Linked DNA regions of Homo sapiens: region 1 is linked to region 2. The links are contacts of gene promoters, found by promoter capture Hi-C in blood cells and fetal thymus (Javierre and others, 2016). All regions are on one chromosome and are shown on one strand. Each heading gives the region's core, a stretch centred on a gene start or on the middle of the fragment in contact. The rest is flanking DNA. Distances are from core to core; before and after follow the strand shown. Region 1 has its middle 73 kb from the start of SEC11C. Region 2 holds the start of MALT1 (MALT1 paracaspase).

Region 1 (5,529 bases), core at 2,607-5,106, 400 kb after region 2:
AGCCTCTTGAGTAGCTGGGATTACAGGCGCCTGCCACCACGCCCGGCTAATTTTTTAATTTTTAGTAGAGATGGGGTTTTGCCATGTTGGCCAGGCTGGTCTCAAACTACTGACCTCGTGATCCACCCGCCTCGGCCTCCCAAAGTGCTGGGATTAGAGGCGTGAGACACCATGCCCAGCCTGCAGCATTATTATTACAGTGGAACAAGCAAATGCTCTCCATCATTAGTCTGAGTAAGGATGCTATCTCATCACCCAGGAGATGAGCAAGCCAGTTTACTTATTATTGAGCAATTTATCATTCAAAGGTGTGTTGTCACTAGCAAATCCACAACTGTAGGGGCACCTGATGTCCTAGATTTGTATCTCCAAAACTATCTGTAAGATATCAATATTGATTAGTAGGTGAATGTAGGAGGTGATAGCTTAAATACATTTTTGGAAAATATGTGTCTACCTGGCTCACACCTGTAATCTCAGCACTTCGAGAGGCCGAGGCAGGTGGATCGCTTGAGCCCAGGATTTCAAGACCAGCCTGGGCAACAAGGCAAAACCCTGTCTCTACTAAAAATACAAAAATTAGCTGGGCATGCTGGTGCGCATTTGTAATCTCAGCTTCTTGGGATGCTGAGGCAGGAGAATTGCTTGAACCTGGGAAGCGGAGGTTGCAGTGAGCCGAGATCAGGCCACTGTACTCTAGCCTGGGCAATAGAGTGACACCCTGTCTCGAAAAATAAAAAAGTGTCTAGCTGATGATCTTTAGAAAAAAATAAGAGTTTGAATAAGAAGAAATGTTTAGTTGAGACTTTCAGGACTAGAAAGGATCTTGATGATTCAATGAATATTTAACCATCTTTGCTTGGTAGCAATGTTGACCATGCTGGTCTTGTTATGCTCAAAGTTGTCTTCTGTTGAGCTGCCAGAGTCATCTGACCACATTACTCCTTCAGTTAAAGCCCTTCAGTGGTGGTCTGTCACCTACAGCTTTCGTCCTCAAACTTAAGTATATGTGGGCCTATTCTAAAGAAATAAGAATTATTTTGGATTCTTGGTGTTGGCTCAACTTATTTTTATTCTTATTTTTTCAATGCTTTTTTTTTCCTGGGAACATAGATTCAAGTTACCCTGACTATCTGCTCTTATTTTTGGTCCAATTTTGCCTAAACATGAACAAACATAAACCTAGATACAAAATTTTATGTTTATAGCACATGCATTCAGAAAGCCAAAACAAATTTATGAAGTAATCATAAAACTATAAAACCAATAAAATCTGCATTAGCAACATTAATATGATATGATGAACAGTTGCTGGAATCACCTGTGGCTCATAATATGAACACAGTATTGTTTGCTTTAGGGCGCGTTCTTTTGTGTTTGGCTTATCTGCGTGAGCATGGATTCTTTGCTGACTTCATTCTTCTACAATTACTTTGTTTTGTTCTACAGTGAAACTGTGGTTTACCTTTTATAGCCTTCACTTGGGGGAAAAGCGTCTTTTGTCTGTAAGTCCATCTGTGTTTATTCACTTAATTACATAAAATACTTCTTGAATGCTTATTCTATGCCAGGTACTGTTCTAGAATCTGGGGATACAGCAATAGACAAGAAAAATCCTTCCCTTGCGAGAGATTACAGTAGGGTCGGGGGAAGTTTAAATATAGTGAATAAAGATAAAGCAGGGATTAGTGGGTAACTAACTGGACTAGGGGTACATTTGCAAAGATGTGGTATGAAAGCATTCTGGGCAGATGGAATGTGAAGGCAGAGGTCTCTAGACTGGAACGAGCTTAGTGGCTTGGAGGAAGAGCAAAATGACCAGTGAGATAGGAACCAAGGGTCAAGGGGGAGAGAGAGGTGGGAAGGGAACTCAGAGAGGAGGGTAGGACCCAGGTTAGGCAGAGCTTTCAAGGCCATGGGAAGAGTTTGGATTTTATTTTAAATGCCACATCACATGAAGTCTTAGTCCATTTCAGCTACTATAACAAAAATAAAGCCCCATAAATGAGGTGGCTTAAAAACAACAGAAATTTATATCTCACAGTTCTGGAGCTGGGAGGTCTAAGATCAAGGCACCAGCAGATTTAGTGTTTGGTGAAGGCCTGCTTTCTGGTTCTTAGCTGGAACTTTCTAGATGTGTCCTCACATGGCGGAAGGGTAGGGCTGTCTCTCTGGGGTCGCTTTTATAAGAGCACTGATACCATTCCTGAAGGCCCAGCCCTCGTGAACTAATTGCCTCTCCAAAGACTCCACCTCTTGATACTAACACCTTGGGGATTAGGATCTCAACATATGAATTTTGGGGGAATGTAAACACTCAGATCATAGCCCATGATTTGATTTGTGGATTTGTAAAATTTATTTTCAAATGGACAAATAATAACTGTATTTATGGGGTACAATGTGATGTTTTGGTATATGTATACCTAGTAGAAAGATGAAATCAAGTTAATTAACATAGGCATCACTTCACCAAGTTATCTCTTTTTTGTGGTAAGAATGTTAAGAATCTTTTCTTTTAGCCATTGAAAAATATCCAGTACATTATTATTAACTGTGGTCACTATGCAGTGCAATAGATCACTAAAACTTACTCCATCGGTTTAACTGAAACTTTGTACGCTTTGATCAATATCTCCCCCTTCCCCATTTCTCCCTGATATGTGATTTTAAAAGATTACTCTGGATGTGGTGTGGGGACTATAAGGTGGCAAGAACAAGAGCAGAGACCAACAGATCCACTGGGAAGCTACCATGGAGGCCCACGCAGGAGGTGATGGAAGATTCACGAGGGTGTTAGCCATGGAGGTGAGGAGCAATGGTCTGATTTGAGACATATTTTTGGAAGCACTCTATGGAGTCTGGAATGAAAGGAGTCTGGGAAGGCTCCAAAGATTTATCCTGAGCAAATTGTGATTCACTACTGAGCACTTTTAATGAGGCTTGTGCAAAGGAGAAACAGAAGTTATATTTTATATCTGTGGCTTAAAACAACAGAAATTTTTTTCTCTCACAGTTCTGGAGGCTAGCTGTTCAAAATCGAAGTGTCAGCAGGGTTGGTTCCATCTGGATTTTCTGAGGGAGAATCTGTCCCATCCCCTCTCCTAGCCTCTGGTAGCTGCTGGCAAGCCTTGGCATTCCTTGGCTCATGGACTCTTCACTCCAGTCTCTGTCTTCGTCATCACATGGTTCTCTTCCTTGTGTCTCTCCTCTGCATTTGTGTCTCCTTTTCTGTCTCTTATAAGGACATTTGTCATTGGGTTTAGGGTCCACCCTAATCCAGGATGATCTCATCTCTAGTTCTTTCTCTTAATGACATCTGCAAAGACCCTTATTCCAAATAAGGTTACATTCTGAGGTTCTGGGTGGACATATCTTTTGAAAGATCACTATGCAACTCACTAGAGATAGCAATAAGTCCTATTCAGAAAGGAAGTTTTCATTGCATTTAATTTTAATTAAGTTAAATAGCCACAAGTGGCTAGGGGCTATTGTCTGGGACAACACAGTTCTAGAATATATACCAAGTTACAGAATATTTGTCCTGAAAGGCACCTACAAATGCAAGCCTCTCACTGACAGAAGAGTTTGAGGCCTGGCAATGTTAAATGCCTTATCCCAACGCCCCCCTGTGGCTGCATCTTGATCCAGAACCCAGGTGAATATGAGGAATTTTTACCTTGTTTTATACATGCAATGTTTTATGCTCAGGGGCTGAAACCATGTATCTCTCTTGTGTTATCATAATTCTTGCAACAGAAAGGTGGTTTTTGGTTTGGTACATTGTCTTAAAATGATAACGCATAAAGACTTTCTTAGGAAAAGTTCACAGACTTAGGCACAGAATGCAATGGGAGCATCGATGGGATGATGGGCATCTTCACTGGCCCAGAGACAGGCTGTGGCTTCATGCATCAGTGCTTGTTCCCTCCAGGTCTGGTGAACCGTGTGCTTTCTTGGGACATCTGGAGTTTCCTGTCCAGCATCAGTTATGCTCGCTACTTGGTGCATCCGATTCTGATCATCCTTTACAATGGCCTTCAGGAAACACTTATTCACCACACTGACACCAACATGGTGAGTTAGCACGCAGCTCCTAGTTCTGTTACGGTAGGTTATGGTATCATAGCTTGTTCTCTTCTTGAGCAACAAGGCAACCTATTTGCTTTCGTGGAAGTCTTTTTTTTTTTTAAGAGCTTCATTGTTCTTTGCTTTATTTGTGGCAGAAAGAGGGAGGGCTTCAGCACAGGATAATATCTTTTATTTTATTTATTTTATTTTTAATATGTAGCACTGATTGTCCTACAGATGCATTTCATAGAGCTAGGATGGTACACTTTAGATCTGAACACAATAGGAATCCCAGAGTAAAACTGTGTTCACCCTGCCCACTTTCTCTCCAGTTCTATCTTTTCTCTGGACACCGTGTGCTGACCTTCGTCACTGGGCTGGCCCTGACGCTGTTCATTGAGAAACCATGTCAGGAACTGAAGCAGCACCTGCTGGGCCATGAATGTTCTGGTTAAAACACAAAAGAATGGATGGGCCTTGTTGGTAATGACGAGCAAAGATGAGGTGGCCTTATCTAGGTGATGAATGCTTGTATTCCCGAGAAGGGGTGTGAATCTCATTTTGTGAAAGTTTAATATATACATTTTCTTTGCATTTAATATGTGAAAGAGTTCTTAGTTCTTATGATGTAAGAGAGTTCTCTAAATTTTTAGTAGCACAATAATAAACTTCTGTTGTACCATTTTAGCAAACAACAACAACAACAACAACAGAAACTGGATTTCTTTTTGGTTTAAACTCCATTTGATTGTCTGTATCAATGATCACAGGAAATGATTAAATGTCGTGCATTTAATGTAATTTGGGTTATGAAGCTCATTTGGGTTATGCTCTTCACTTTTCTCTGTAAAATTACAACATGCAGTATGCACTTTCCCACGACAGAATTGTTTATGTGTTATTATGGCGTCTTTGCAGACTTGTAACTTTATCCTAGAACCTCAGTGGTATGACCCGCTAGCATGCATACTTCATGGGTCTGTCATTATAGGGCCTTTCAAATATCACCTATTCTTCACCATAGTCCCTGTTTTGGACTGAATTGTATCCCCTCCCCCAAAAGCTCTGTTGAAGTCCTAACTCCCATTCCCTCAGAATGTGGCCTTATTTGGAGCCAGGGTCTTTATAGAGATAATGAAGTCCAACGAGGTCACTGGGGATGGAGATTCTAATCCAGTATGACTGGTGTCCTTATAATAAGCAGAAGTTTGGTCACGGAGACAGGCATACACACAGGGAAGACGATGTGAAGACCCAGGGAGAAGACAGTCATGTGCAAACCCAGGAACACCAAGGCAAACCCCAGAAACCGGGGGAGGTAAGGACAGAGTCTGCCCTGGAGCTGCCCGAGAAAGCATGGCCCCGTGGGACACCTCGATTTTGGACTTCTGGCCTCCAGAACTGTGAGATAATTCATGTCTGTTGTTTCAAGCCACCCAGTTTTTGGTACTTTGTCAC
Region 2 (5,575 bases), core at 36-2,535:
ATAGCATTTACTGAGTCATCTACGATGTGCCAGTTACCGAGTTAAGTGCTTCACATACATCAACTCCTTTAATTCTGGCAACAACTCTATATAAACTGTATTGTCAGTCCTGTGTTAATAGATGAGGCAGAGAAATTAAGAAACTTATTCAAGCTCCTAACACTTGAATCGAGCAGATCTTTCATGCTCTTAGCCATCTCACTGCAGTCTGAATTCTTAACTTATGCTAGAGTGAAGTTTAATGACTGCTTGTGCTAGAATGTGGTGGAGACTGTATGGCGCACCTACCTCGCCAACATGTATAAGAATATAGGTATCCAAATTACTGGTCAGAAAATCCTGCGGCCTTGGGTGATGAAAAGCTAATGGCAACAGAAATTGGGCCAGGAAGCCTCGTGTAGGGAACTACCTGACTGGTCACATTTCGTAAGTTACTTCCTTTTTGTCCCAAACGAAGCCATAGTTTTCAAAGGGATAATGGCCTTGGATGTTGCTAAGATTGGCAGAGAGAGCTCAGGTGTCGTCCATTCCGGATCATTCCAGGGAAAGGCATCCTCTACAGGGTTGCCTGCTTTGATGACGGAGATTGCGGGCGGCAGTCTGACGCGGTGTAAACCAGATGATTCCTGCTAAAAACAATCATTTCCAAGATCTGATTAGCCCTAAATATGCCACAGCTCAGTTTGCAAAGTAGTAATTGTTTAAAAGTCTAGGCAAAGATTTTGGCCAATTCCAACTCAAGTATCCGGATCTCCAGCACTACTTCCCTCTAGCAATGCCATACACATCTAACCCTAAAACGAGGAAGCGTCCGCTGAGGTTGCCCACTGCAGGATGCTGGTGTGTCGCCGGGCACATGAAAGTCCCTGAGTCAGGGGAGAGCGCTCGCCGGGGACTGCGGGCGGGAGCCGGCGACTGAGAACCGCTTGCCCCGCTCTCTGGCGTGAGTACGCAGGCCTCCTCCCACGGTCTCAGGAAGCCCAGACGCCGCAGGCTTCCCCGCCGTAGAGGAGCTGCCGGGGCGTAATTCCTCCACCGCTTCCTCCTCCAGCTGCACCCACCCGTCCTTTCCTGCTCGGGAGGGCTGGGTTTGAAGCGCGCGCCACGGCCAGCCCGGGACCGCGGGGGAGGGCGAGGGAGGCGCGCAGCCGCACGCACGCAGTAGGCAGCCCCGCCCCGCCCCTCGAGGCCCAAGGTCCCGCCCCTCGAGGCTCCGTGCCCCGCCCCCCGGGTGCCCCGCCCCTTTGCGCGGCTGGCGCGGCCAGCAGGCCAGGCTCCCCTCGGCAAACCTGTCTAATTGGGGCGGGGAGCGGAGCTTCCTCCTCTGAGGGCCGTGCCGCGCTGCCAGATTTGTTCTTCCGCCCCTGCCTCCGCGGCTCGGAGGCGAGCGGAAGGTGCCCCGGGGCCGAGGCCCGTGACGGGGCGGGCGGGAGCCCCGGCAGTCCGGGGTCGCCGGCGAGGGCCATGTCGCTGTTGGGGGACCCGCTACAGGCCCTGCCGCCCTCGGCCGCCCCCACGGGGCCGCTGCTCGCCCCTCCGGCCGGCGCGACCCTCAACCGCCTGCGGGAGCCGCTGCTGCGGAGGCTCAGCGAGCTCCTGGATCAGGCGCCCGAGGGCCGGGGCTGGAGGAGACTGGCGGAGCTGGCGGGGAGTCGCGGGCGCCTCCGCCTCAGGTGAGCTCAGGGCCGCGGCAGGCCGGGCGCGCGGGTCGAGCGGGGTGGGCTGCGGTGGGGAGGTGGGGGCGCTGTCGGTGGGGCTGAGCGCGGCGGGGGCCGCCGGCGTGAGTGAGCGGAGGTGGGGAGGACTTCGGTCATTGAGGCGGAGCGGAACTCAGCAGCTCCCCGGAACGCCTGGGGTTTGAGAGCGGGGCCCAGGGCTCTGGAGGGTGGAGGCAAAAGTGGCCCAGCGGCTGCCTCGCTCCCTGTTCCCACCCCCGCCCCTGGTGAAAGGGAGAAGTCGAGGTTGACCCCGGAGGATAGTGAGAGAAGGAAAGCTGTCAGGGGACCCCTAGGATGGGGCAGTCATCCAGAGGACTTAAAATGCAAAAGAAAGGGATGTGGACACTGCTCTGGGAGACCTAAGGAAGGCTGGGAAGAAGCGCAGGCGAGGTGATGAATGCAGAGGGTGGGGTGCAGGAATTCATGAACATTTTGCAAGGTATTGGGAAAGACTGACGCCGAACTCATCATCTCCCTCCATCAAACCAGGTTACCACGTTCTCTTCTTGACTTCACCATGAACATGAAACTCGAAGTAAAACTATTTTCCTTGTTAGGTTTGGAATGGCTGTATTAGGGTTCCTGAAGTTTTGGTCTCGAGACTCCTTTACCCTCTTAAGAATTATTGAGGACCCCAGAGAGCTCTTATGTGGGTTAGAGATAATACATACATGTAATACATACTGATATTTACCACCTTTGAAATTAAAGCTAAGACATTTAAAAAATATTAATTTATTTAAAAAGAATAACCCATTATATGGTAACAGAAATAATACTTTCGTGGAAAAACAAATTTTCCAAAACAAAAAAGTCTATTAGAGAAGTGGCATTGGTTTTCATTTTGAAGATCTCTTTAATGTCTTGGCTTAATCACAGAGCTGGATTCGTTTATGTGCTTCTGCATTCAGTCTGTCGCACTATTACAGGTCACAGAACGCTGGAAACTGCAGTGTCCACTCCTGAAAGAATGAATGAAAAAGCTAAATAAAGTCTTAATATTGTTATGAAAAATCTTTATGACCTTGTGGACCCCGCGAAAGGGTCTCAGGAACTGCACTAGGGGTTCCCAGACCCCACTTAGAACCATTACTTTATACCATTGTTGTAACTTTGGCCTGCCTTTGAACCCCTTAGCAGTTTTTTGAACTTCTCAAATGACAAAGATTTGTCTTACAGTATAATTATTTGTACACATCTTTATAAATGCCTTAAGAACAAAAACTGTCTCTTAATATTCTGTTATGTATAGAGGTTAGTAAATACTTGATGAGAGGAAAGTCATTCATTCAAAATGGTATTTATTAAGTGCTTATTATTTGCTAGAAATTTTAGAAGATAAAAAACTAACAAATATTCAATTCCTAATCATAAGGGTTTATCCAGGAATGGACTATTATTTGGGGACCTTTACAATAACATATTAAATGCTGTGTTGGGTATGAATGATAATGGATTTTTATCTTTTATTGAGGACATGGTATGTACCACAAAATATACTAAATGTTTACATGCTGCTGCTGCTGCTTCATTCTTCTTTATTCTTCTTATTTTTGCATTATCTTTTTTTTTTCCGAGATGGAGTCTTGCTCTTTCGCCCAGGCTGGAGTGCAGTGGTGTGATCGTGGCTCACTACAACCTCCGCCTCCCAGGTTCAAGCAATTCTCCTGCCTCAGCCTCCTGAGTAGCTGGGATTACAGGCGTGCGCCACTACAGCCCGCTAATTTTTTTGTATTTTTAGTAAAGACGGGGTTTTGCTGTGTTAGCCAGGCTGGTCTTGACCTAAGGTGATCCAGCCGCCTCAGTCTTCCAAAGTACTGGGATTACAGGCATGAGCTACCCTGCCTGGCCACATTATTTTCTTAAACCCTCCTGACAACTCTTGTTTCAGAGTTTGGGATTGAGGCAAAGGATAATAGTGACTTGGGATTATTGCTTGTGCAAAGGAGTAATGATGTGAGGAGGGAATAACTAGCAAGGCCTAGCAGAGAAGTGGCATAATTTTTTTCTGTTCTAGGAAAAACACGTTGGGCTTTTGGATATGCAAAAAAAACAAATACAAAATATTGTTATGCTAGGTACATAAAATTTTGAATTTCTGGACTTACCATAATGTAAAAAATTGTCTTTGGGGGCAGATCTCCAGAGTATTACGGTGCTAACGAGTACTCTGGTTAGGGAAGGTTCTGGGCTTCCTGAAGAAAGCCAGGTATGGAGGACTCCTACATGGCCATGAAGGAGAGAGAAGAAAGTCAGCAAGGCCCTGCCAGGGAAGAAGCGTGGCTGCTGGAATCCAAAAGCAGCGGATACTTGATGTTGGGTGTTGTGTTTTCCTCGCCTGCCTTCAGTCAGTTTTTGTTAAAGGCTACAAAATGGTCTTAGCTTTGTTTGGGGGAACTAAAGGAAATATTTGAGGCCACTTTTCTGTGGAGTCACACAGAGAGAAGGGGACAGTTGCCTAACAAGAGGTGGCAAGCACAAAGGGCATGCAGTTGTGGAATCTGAGAATTTGGGGTGGGAAGTCTGATGAGAGGCAGATGAGTTTCACCTGTCTTTCAAGATGGTAAAGATTAGTTTTGAGGAGGTTGGCTGGGGTGAGAAGGGTTGGAGAATTTGGGAACGTTAAGCTCATCCCTATGGAGATCAGAAGAATTAAACGGACTTTTTTTCAAAAAACAGCACTGGGAGCTTGGGGGCTGGACAGTGAAGCAAGGTCAGCTGGGGATGCTTACTCTATTTAAGACAAAAAAGTTATTGTAAAGTGATTTCATGCTGTTGGGAGAAGATCTGTGATACTAGAAGGTCCTAAAGGTATTTTTTCTCTGGTGCCAAAGACAGGAATTATAGTGTGAGTGTCTAGTCCGTGTGGGTGACAAGTCCCACGAGGCTGTGAAGTGCTTTCTTCAGTCACTGGATCTGCAGCCCTAGAATCTCGAAATGTTGCCCATTCTGTTTCTTTTTCTTCTCTTCACTTTTTTTTCTGACACTTTACATCTTTCCTCAAACTGGGTGAAAATTTAATAATACAAATAAGTAAACCACAAGAAAAGAGCCCGTTCAAACTGTCTACAAGAGATTAGAAATAATTGTAAATGTTTTCATTGCTGATGACTCAGAGTAAATCCTTGTTGATAGCTTAGTTCCCCACAACCATGTACATTTGGGAATGTGCTATAGTCAGACCCGGCCCTGATTCCATTCAAGACTGACCTGGACACCCTTTGCTGTTAGTGTAGATAGACACAGACTCTGAGGGTCTTGCCCAAGCTATGTAAATTCTTTGGTGGCATGGAACATCTGAGCCCTAAGGATGGCAGACCTTCCAGGAGGTTCTAAATGCTGCCTAAAATTCTGTTAAGTAGGGAGCTTAGAAATGGGGCTGTGGAACCTGGACCATGGAAAAACAGTCATTGCATACCTGCTGAGTAGAAGGTGCACTTTTAGCTGCAGAAATCCTGCTTTCATGCAGTTTATTATAGGAATGAGAACGTGTAAAAGGCTCTAACAGAAGGTTTCCTCCCAGCCTGGGAAACATACTGAGACCCTGTTTCTACAAAAAAACAAAAAATTAGCCAGGCATAGTGGCACAGGCCTGTAGTCCCAGCTACTCTGCAGGCTGAGGTGGGATTGCTTGAGCCCAGGAGTTCGAGGCTGCAGTGAGCCTCAACAATTATTATTGAAATTCATTCAGTAATCATTCATTTATGAATAATTAATATGGACAAGACAGAATTTTATTGATTTAGGTATTGTCAACCTCCAGCATGGTCGACAGAGAAGACCTTGTCTCTAAAACAAATAAACTAAAAAAGGTTTCCTTCTCGCCCTCTTGGTCTTATCCTTCAGTCCCATGACTT

The links. The method cuts DNA at HindIII sites, captures the fragments that hold promoters and counts their contacts. A CHiCAGO score of 5 or more calls a contact.
Region 1: a contact is called between a fragment that was not itself captured here and the fragment with the promoter of MALT1 in region 2, in 1 of 17 cell types (total B cells). The highest score is 6.2, in total B cells.

Annotation. Positions count from the first base shown.
Region 1 is chr18:59,064,438-59,069,966 of GRCh38, forward strand. It overlaps the pseudogene OACYLP. Among named protein-coding and RNA genes, the nearest start is that of SEC11C, 73 kb to the right of the region's middle. The HindIII fragment of the contact is 8,599 bases long and covers 1-5,529 here.
Region 2 is chr18:58,670,180-58,675,754 of GRCh38, forward strand. It overlaps MALT1 (MALT1 paracaspase), which reads left to right and starts at 1,286. Exons shown (of 17, transcript NM_006785.4): 1 at 1,286-1,673. The coding sequence starts at 1,465. MALT1-AS1 (MALT1 antisense RNA 1) reads right to left here and starts at 1,694. Exons shown (of 2, transcript NR_164150.1): 1 at 1,290-1,694; 2 at 1-629. LOC105372146 (a long non-coding RNA gene) reads right to left here. Exons shown (of 4, transcript XR_935537.3): 4 at 2,434-2,680. RefSeq lists an enhancer at 605-864 and a silencer at 1,025-1,814. The HindIII fragment of the contact is 13,202 bases long and covers 1-5,575 here.